Regions from separate parts of the Homo sapiens genome. Here region 2 is linked to region 1. Evidence: promoter capture Hi-C in 16 types of primary human blood cells and fetal thymus (Javierre and others, 2016). All regions are on one chromosome and are shown on one strand. The core of a region is centred on a gene start or on the middle of the fragment in contact, and the rest is flanking DNA. Distances in the headings are between cores, read along the strand shown. Region 1 holds the start of IGF2R (insulin like growth factor 2 receptor). Region 2 overlaps SLC22A3 (solute carrier family 22 member 3).

Region 1 (4,499 bases), core at 1,423-3,922:
ATTTTCAGGTCATACAGTCTCTGTTGCAACGACTCAACTGTGTCATTGCAGGCAAAAGCAGCCCTAGATAATACATAAACACATGGGTGTGGCCGTATTCCCACAAAACTTTATTTACAAAACAGCTGCCTTACCACATTTGACCCACAGGTTATTGCTTGCTACATGGATTTAGAGTAGCACTTCCACTTTTTTTCTCTTTTTTTTTTTGGAGGAGAGTTGTTTTTTCAGCGCATTAATATTTTGCAATAGTCCAGTTCAGTTTTCTTGTCATATGTTTCACAGTTTGAATTTGATTGTTTTATCTCAATTAGATTAAGTTGAACTTCTTGGCAAGACTACTTGTGATAGTGTGTACGGTAGGGAATAACTGTGAAAGACTTTGAAATGGACCAAAAATATTAGTGGTCAACTGTAATGGAATGCTAGCTGTTTAGTACAGTCTTTTGGGTTATCTGATTCTATGGGGTCTTGTGTCTGCCACTGTCTTTGAGGTATTTTACAACTCTGTAAATTGTAGACTACTGATGGTAATATACACGATTTTTGTCTTTAGAAATGCAAATTGTGTCTATTGCGTACGCAGCTGTTTTTTGACCTATGGTTACTGACCAATTTTCCATCTATAGACAACCTTATTTCAGCATTCCTAACTGCTTGAATATTTGTTGGATTCTCCTTGGATTTTCCTTTGAACCAGCTGTGACATGTTACCGGTTCTCACATTAATGAATGAGCTAAGGAATACCTTTGATACATGTTCATTCTACATCTGAGTCATGATTATACCATCTTTTAAATATTACCCTTTAGCATTTTTTATTGCATCACTTTAGAAAGCAGAAAATGCTAGTTTTTTAAAAATTGGTGATACTAGTTTTAATTACTTGATTAAGGTGGTTCTACCAGATCTTTCCATTGTGAAGAGGTATTTTGTGTTTTTTAAGGAAGTATACTTTGAAGGTGATACTTTGAGACAAAGAGAATATTCCGCTTCACAATAATTTTTCACCAGATGGTTTTAGTATTTACTGATGGTCTTTGCCTGTATCCATTATAACACTGGAGTTGCAAAACACAAACCCTTTTTCTTTTTTTTTTTTTTTGAGATGGAATCTCGCTCTGTTTCCCAGGCTGGAGTGCAGTGGCACGATCTCTGCTCACTGCAACCTCTGCCTCCTGGGTTCAAGCGATTCTCCTGCCTCAGCCTCCCGAGTAGCTGGGACTACAGGCGTGTGCCACCACGCCCGGTTAATTTTTTGTATTTTTAGTAGAGATGGGATTTCACTGTGTTAGCCAGGATGGTCTCGATCTCCTGACCTTGTGATCCGCCCGCCTTGGCCTCCCAAAGTGCTGGGTTTACAGTCGCGAGCCACCGCGCCCGGTCACCACAAACCCTTTTTCGACGTCCACAGTTTACACCTGAGCTCTCCCTTTGACCCACTACAACACTTTCTTTTCTTGGGCAATATATTAATAGCACGGTGGTTATGTCACAGGCCTGTGACTGGCTTGGGCTCAAACCCGGGCTTTTTCACTTACTAGCTGCAAGACTAACTAGTTATTTAATTTCTCCATTCCTCACTTTCCTTATCTGCAAAACGGATGCAATAAAGGCACCCCCTCTTACAGGACTGTTAGGATTAAATGAGCTAAATCACAGTGTCCGAACACTTCAGTACTTCGTACATAATTACTTGCTCAAGAAATGTTAGCTATTATTGGGTCATGATTATTTATATGTGTTTGAATTCCAGCTTTGCCACATCCCAGAGTGTCTTTGAGTAAGTCACTGAGTATCCTTGTGCCTCAATTCCTCATCTATAAGTAGGTTCCCATCTCATAGGTTTTTAAAGATTCATGCTTACATGCTTAGCAGTGTCTGGTATGGAATAAGCACTAAAAAAGATGAGCTTTTATGATGATGATGATTACTATTTTCAGTCATGATTATTTTGTATATTTACTCTAAAAGAAAGTGAATTTTTTTAGTTCAAGACTTTTAGATTCATCGTTCTACTTTCATTGTGGCTAGCTCATGGCCATCCACGTAGTGAATTAATAAAGCTTTGTTGAGTGGCACTTGCTTGACAGCGACACTTTTGTCCACTCTTTCACCTTGCTGGATTTGTGCTGCCTTCCTTGCTGTAGGAAGCCCACGCTTGGGAAATAACATTCCCACAGAAGGTCTGAGAGGCTCTGACGGGCCAAGGTTGTAAACCCCCATGATTTGACTCCACGGGCAGTTAAAGTGTGTTCCCACCCCCCACGGATCCGCTGCCACTAGGCTGTGCGAAGGCATTTACCTCCCTGGCACTTTGATCCAAGTTCCCTATTTTCCCCTACTGGTCGATCGAGGTTGGGAACAGTTGCTCTAACCTGGGAAGCACCCGCCACGATCCAGCAGGGCGCGGTGGGAGGGGAAACTGAGGCCCGGCTAGGCACCCCCGCCGCGCCCAGCCCGCCGAGAGGCTCAGGCCCCGGGAGGCACCTGGAGCCTGCGCCCCGCCCGCGCCGCTTCCTGTCCCGCGCGCTGCGCTCACGTGACCCGGGCCTGGGAGGAGCCGGGGCGGGCGGGGGTCACCTGAACAAGGGAGTCACGTGAGCGGGGGGCGGGGGTGGGGGGGCGGTGCCGGGCGGCTGTCACGTGACGCGGTTCCGGGGCCGCCGCTGCCGCTGTCGCTGTCGCCGAGCCCAGTCGAGCCGCGCTCACCTCGGGCTCCCGCTCCGTCTCCACCTCCGCCTTTGCCCTGGCGGCGCGACCCCGTCCCGGGCGCGGCCCCCAGCAGTCGCGCGCCGTTAGCCTCGCGCCCGCCGCGCAGTCCGGGCCCGGCGCGATGGGGGCCGCCGCCGGCCGGAGCCCCCACCTGGGGCCCGCGCCCGCCCGCCGCCCGCAGCGCTCTCTGCTCCTGCTGCAGCTGCTGCTGCTCGTCGCTGCCCCGGGGTCCACGCAGGCCCAGGCCGCCCCGTTCCCCGAGCTGTGCAGGTGGGTGGCCCGCCCGGACGCAGGCTCCGCTCGCGGTGCCCGGGGTGAGCGGCCGGCGTGGGGGGCGGGGAGCGCTCGAGGAGCTCCTGGGGTCTCCAAGTCGCCTCCGTTCCGCGCCGGGGTCCGCCCCGTTCCCGAGGGAAAGTTGCCTGCGTGGTGTCCGCGAGTCCCGCCGGGTCCCGTGCGCAGGCGGGGGGCGCGGGGGCACACGCGGTCGTGGCGGTCCTGGAGCCCCGCGTCCGGCCACTTGTGGCTGTCGCTGAGTCGGGGGTGGCTTTGTGCGGAGCGGTCGCCCCGGCCCTTGGGGTCGGCGCCTGCCCTCGCGCGGCCGGGCGTCCGGGAAAGTTGGAGGCAGGAACTCCAGTTTGCTTTGTTCCCGCTGCGCGTTTGCATCAGAGTTTCGCCAGCGGGGCACCGGTGAGGCCCCTCGGTGTGGAGAGGCTCACCGGGGCGTTGGAGCCCGCAGGAATGGTCCTGGAGTTGAGTGTTTGTGGTTTCATTTGCTGATTGATTTCCCCCCGTGGGCTCATTTTCTCTTTAAAGAATATATATATATATATATTTTTAGCAGGCGGTGACTTTTGTCTTCTTTAGATTGGGGGCAGGGGGTGTCGTCCAGTGTGAGCTTTCAAGACTTGACCCTTCACTTCTCTGAGCCCAACTTCCTGCCTGGTTGCTCACATGATGTCATTGTCTCCGGGGCGGATTATTCTAGTGGATCTTGCTCTGGGAACCATGATTGTATAACCCATCAGTCCCATCGAGGGCTGTTCACCTCGCGCAACTGCTAGCAGTCCAGGGCCTGGGGAACTTCGAATTTCAGGAATTTTCTGACCATCCTTTTCTGGACTGTTTAGGATGATGGAAAATTCAGCTTTTGTTTATTTTTTTAAACTTTGGTAAAAAGGAAGCAGGATGAAAAGTTTTGAACAGACAACAGTTTCTCCCTGTTACTGTTACTTTTACAAGTTACTTTTACAAGTTACTTTTCAGAGTGAAACAAAGTTGAGCCTACTTTGGGCTGAACTTGGAGTTTGTGGTAGGGTTTATGGGGGGGGTTCTTATTTTTCCCATGCATCAGAGATAGTTTTATTAGCACCCCTGTGTTCAGAACATGCAGAAATTAGTCTAAGGAGGGTGAGGCTGATCTCACGATAGAAACTCTTTGGAAAGGCCCATATTTTTTATGCTCCCTTTTTTGGAAGGGGAAGGGTGGATGGAGGGAGAGTTTGTGACACTAGTTTAAAGACCAGTTAGCTACCCTAAGATACATAGTTACTCCAGTAACTAGTATGATACAGAGAAATGGTGGCAGCTTAAACGAGGTCAGGCTGAGAACAACATTTAGAGGAAGGCATTTTGGAATAATGGCTTCTGTGACCAAAAATAAGAAATTAACTCGCCTGGGCGCGGTGGCTCATGCCCGGAATCCAGCACTTTGGAAGGCCGAGGTGGGCGGGTCACTTGAGTCCAGGAGTTGGAGGCCAGCTTCAGCAACATGGCGAAACCCCGT
Region 2 (4,499 bases), core at 1,421-3,920, 490 kb after region 1:
GATGAAATAAACACAACTCTTTGAGGATTTGAGACTACATTCACCCTTTATTCACAGTCACTTGCAGTTTTGCTTTTCTCTGCATTTCTCTGCTGTAAGATGACTGTTGCATTGTTGAATTGTATTTTGAGTGGATATTTTTGTTTGGTAACAATTAAAATTTTAAATCGTAAAAAATGTACATTTGCCCTTTCTCTTCCTTCTAAACATGTGTCTCTCCCACAGGTCATTCTCCTGTGACACGTGTACTGCAGAGTGTTTCAAAACCGGGCAGGCAATTAGCAATGGGAAATAAGTGGTCCACCTTCAATATTTGCTTGTTGTTCATTTACATGCTCTTGGCACCAATCCTAGACTCACGTGTGCCCCAGAATAACATTCAGACTCTCAGCTGGTCTTGTGTTACACATCCATGGACCGGTTCACTCCATCATATACAGCTCTCTGCTCCGTGTCCCCTGGGCTCAAGTCAAGCAGTCGGTGACAGATTTCATTCCCAATAACAGAATCGGTTTGCATGACTCCCCATACATGTTGCAGCTTTGAAAACATTCATCTCAGAGTTAGGTATAAAGACATAAAAATGTGTGTCAAGCCCTCGTTAGCTGATGAGGTAAATGCATGGACAACTTCCTAGGACTTCTCGGCTCTGCCCTCTGTGACCTTGCAGCCTGCTCAGGTCTTTGTGCTCTGTTCCTTATCAAAAACAGCACAACCCCCTCAATCTGCCCATTTAAAAATTGGTGGAGTGAACAAAGAGCATGAAAATGTTGAAGACCACAACCAAAATTTACTCAAATCAAAGTTAAGTACAGAGTTTATTTTTAACAAATGTCATAGCTATGTCACCTTACTACAGAATCCAGCAGTCAGAAAATAACACAAAAAATGCCGAGGTTTGGCGTAGCTGGTAGCTGGGGACAGTGTCTTCGTTTGATTACTGCCAGTTATTTCCAGCATGCTAAATCCCTACCCACGTTCCAGCCTCTAGGTGAGTCAGTGCGTCACTCTGTCTCCCGTCCAATTAATTATTTCTCATCACTCCCTCAATCCAAGTAACAAACCTTGAAACACGAACATAGACACCAGGCTTATTGGGGCGTGCACAGCCAAGACCCCAAGAAGTGACTCCTTGTAAAATGTATTTGTCCTTCTCAAAGCAAACCAGAGGCCCTCCACTGTCACCCTAAATAGAGGTAGGGAAAAATTCATGTGAGGGTTAGGCTGCCAGCCTTTTATTGTGGCATCCATCTATTGTCCATATGTATATTTTCCCAGTAATTGAAATTGGAAAGGAACTTATGGGCATATTACTGGAGCATCTGCAGTGCTTAAGTACTTAGCAAAATCTATTCAGCGAAACCACACCACTTAGTTTCTCCCAGGGGTAAAAAAAACCCTTGTGAATCCTGCACACATCCCTTCCTGTGTTGGTGTTTCCTTTAGACTGGCCTAGCCTGGGCATCACTGTAAAGTATGTGCAGTTGGTCTCTGTCCTGTACCCTCTACCTCCTTCCCTGTCGGAAAAGTCACCACTTTAGTCCCTGGCCACCAGCACACCCCAGGAGGGTGAGTGGCCTGAGGTAGTTACGGCACTTAAAACTCCCTTGCTACCGATCTGGAACTCAAGCCCCAAGACATCCCCTTAGATGATCTGAATACGCATTCAGGGACAGATCTAGGCAGTTTCTAAACAACACTTAGACTGGGGTCTAACGTTGACAAATCCTTCTAGAATTTGCCTCTTTGGGACTGAAGTCTAAGGGGCTGAGACCAAGAAGGGAGAGCACAAGACTAACTTTGGTCTCTTGACCTTTTCTTACCTTGCAACTGTCAGTGCCTCCAGCCAAATGCCTAGCACAGAGCTCAGTGGATTTGATTCTTCCATTCAGATACTCATAGCGATTGCACACTTTATTCTCAATCACAAGAAGCTGGGGCTTCCTTGAGAAGGCCAGCCCCAAAGGTACCTGTGTTTAAAAGATGAAAGAAATGGTTGCTGAACCCAAAACATGTTTAGGAGGAAAACCAGAAGAACAGAGCAGTGGCACTGGACCTCCTGTCTGTCCGTGAGGCTGCAGAACACAAGGCAGCTCCCAATGCCGCTGGACTCTCTGACCTTGGAGAGTGTAAACATCATATATGATTCTGTGTTCCTGAGATCTGGGTTTAACGATCTGGGCTTTGTCATGGTGTTTTACGTTCGTTGTTGTTTGTGTACTTTTTGCTTTTCTTTTGAAAGTATGAAAATGATTTTTACAATGTAAAGAGAGTCTGAGAAATGCAATTGCTATTCTTTTTATATACTTTTTCAGATTTTTTATATGCTTCTTTACTACTTACATCATAATGCACAATTTTATATACTGATTTTTTCAATCAATGTATATCATGAGTTTTTAAAATAATGCTACAATCTTCATAACTAATATTTTAATGGGGAGTGACTGCTTAATTGGCATGAGGTTTCCTTTTGAGATGAGGAAAATGTTCTGAAAATATGGTGATGGTTGCACACCATTGTGAATGTACTGAATGCCATTCAGTGGTACCCTGCAAAATAATTAAAATCCTAACTCTTATGTTGTGTATATTTTATTGCAATAAAAAGAATAGTCGTCATTTACTAAGAATTAACCTTTTCAGGCACAAGCTCTTAATGTGGTGTATCTCACTTCATCCTCACAACCGTCCTATGAAACAGGCACTTTTATCATTCCTGTTCTACAGCTGAGGAAACTGAGGTGTAAGGAGGTTGTGTAGTTCAGCTTGAGCCTGGGTCTGCGGAGTCACTGCCCAAATGCTTCCTCCCCGTGCACACTGGCCCCACTCTTGCTTCCAATCTTCCACATGTTTGTTCATAAAGTTCATTCTCGTTTCTTTTCTGAAGTCTAAGTTCCCATAATTATGTTGACATATTTCCATCTCGCGGTAACACTCCCAAATTATTTTCTAAAAGTGTGTGACAGTATAAAATGTTACTGGAAACAATTCTCCTCACCCTTGTGAGTATTCAATTTTTAAAAGATTAGCTAACATAGTAGGTGGAAATTGTCCTGATTCATTTTCTGATTTACACTTCCTTGACAATTAGGGAGAAGAAATACAACTAGGGACAATTCTCCTAGTTGTAGTTTTTCTTTTGTGAAAAACTGCTTTATTTCCTTTGCCAAATTGAAACAGAACATCTGCTAAACTGCCAGAGGGAATGCTGTTTTTCCAGATGGACACGCCAAGGATGTCTCAGTGCTCTCACAAATAATCGTTTTCCAATTTTGCAAGCCCAGCTTTGATTAGAATTTCTCAAAATATTTTGCTTTGCGAGCATGACACAGGCAAAAGCTGAGGCACTCTTTCTTTCTTCCCCCAAAGTGTTGGACTGCACTTAGATCATTGTCTCAGGTTCAGAAAACTGACACTGAATCTGGAGTTTACATGAGCAGCGTAGAAGAGGCTCTTCCCAGAGCCTGGCTCCAGAGCCCAGCTCAGCCCTAGCCGGGAAGGAGCTGCATGGAGGAAGCTCCTCCTGGCTACCAAGCATCGGGCAGGGGGTGCATGACGTGGACTGTGTAGATGGGTGAGGGAGCACCCTTTTCAAAATATTTTGCTGAAAATTAAGTTAGATATCACTGCTCTCAGATCTGCTCTCAGAGCAAGGCAAACATCCTGATCAGGAGGTAAACCCACCACTAGTTGCCAGGAAATTGACGCGGTCTGTGAGTATGTGCTGCCATCCAGTGGCCAATGTAGAGATGGCACCTCTGAGGGCGGGGGGCCACGGGTGACCTTGAGGATTGAAGCCCTCCCTGATTGGGTCCTGGGGAGAGGGCCACAAGATTAGCCCAGTGATTGTGGATGGGGCTGACACGGAAGAGCCCCTTGGCCTCAACACCTACTCTGCATTTGGAATATCCAAGTCAAGGAAGGTCTGGAAACATGAAGGGGAGAGGGGGAGAATTTCGACCTCCCTCTGAGAAGCTGAGAACACCCATTGATCTGATGTCATCAACATATAGAAAATCGATAAACAGATCTGAGTTATGTTTTGTGACTCCTCCTGGTCTAGTTAGTGTTCTGAGAATCATTTTCTCAGTGGACATGTGGGTGAGACCAGAGGAGACAGGGAGCCAGTGCAGGATGGTGGTTAGAAATGTGCAGAAGGGGGTGGGAGAGAGGACACAGCGAGTGGGCTCTGGGGTCAAGGCCCGGTTACACGCCGGTTATGTGATGTTTATTTATGATGATAGTGGTGATAGTGATGGTGATAGTAGTGATAATAGTGATGATGGTGGTGGTGATGATGGTTGTGGTAATGATAATGGTGATGGTGGTGGTGATGGTGATGATGGTGGTGGTAGTGATAATGGCAATGGTGGTGATGGTGATGGTGGTGATGGCGGTGGTAGTGGTAGTAATGATGATGATGGCGGTGGTGATGGTGATGATGGTGATGGTGGTGGAATGGTGGTGATGGTAATGGTAGTAATGATGATGACGGT

What was found. The method cuts DNA at HindIII sites, captures the fragments that hold promoters and counts their contacts. A CHiCAGO score of 5 or more calls a contact.
Region 2: a contact is called between a fragment that was not itself captured here and the fragment with the promoter of IGF2R in region 1, in 2 of 17 cell types (naive CD4 T cells and total CD8 T cells). The highest score is 6.1, in naive CD4 T cells.

Annotation. Positions count from the first base shown.
Region 1 is chr6:159,966,410-159,970,908 of GRCh38, forward strand. It overlaps IGF2R (insulin like growth factor 2 receptor), which reads left to right and starts at 2,673. Exons shown (of 48, transcript NM_000876.4): 1 at 2,673-2,986. The coding sequence starts at 2,838. RefSeq lists silencers at 2,234-2,853, 2,864-3,143, 3,164-3,293. The HindIII fragment of the contact is 4,184 bases long and covers 2,066-4,499 here.
Region 2 is chr6:160,452,401-160,456,899 of GRCh38, forward strand. SLC22A3 (solute carrier family 22 member 3) reads left to right here. Exons shown (of 11, transcript NM_021977.4): 11 at 1-177. Among named protein-coding and RNA genes, the nearest start is that of SLC22A3, 110 kb to the left of the region's middle. The HindIII fragment of the contact is 6,115 bases long and covers 1-4,499 here.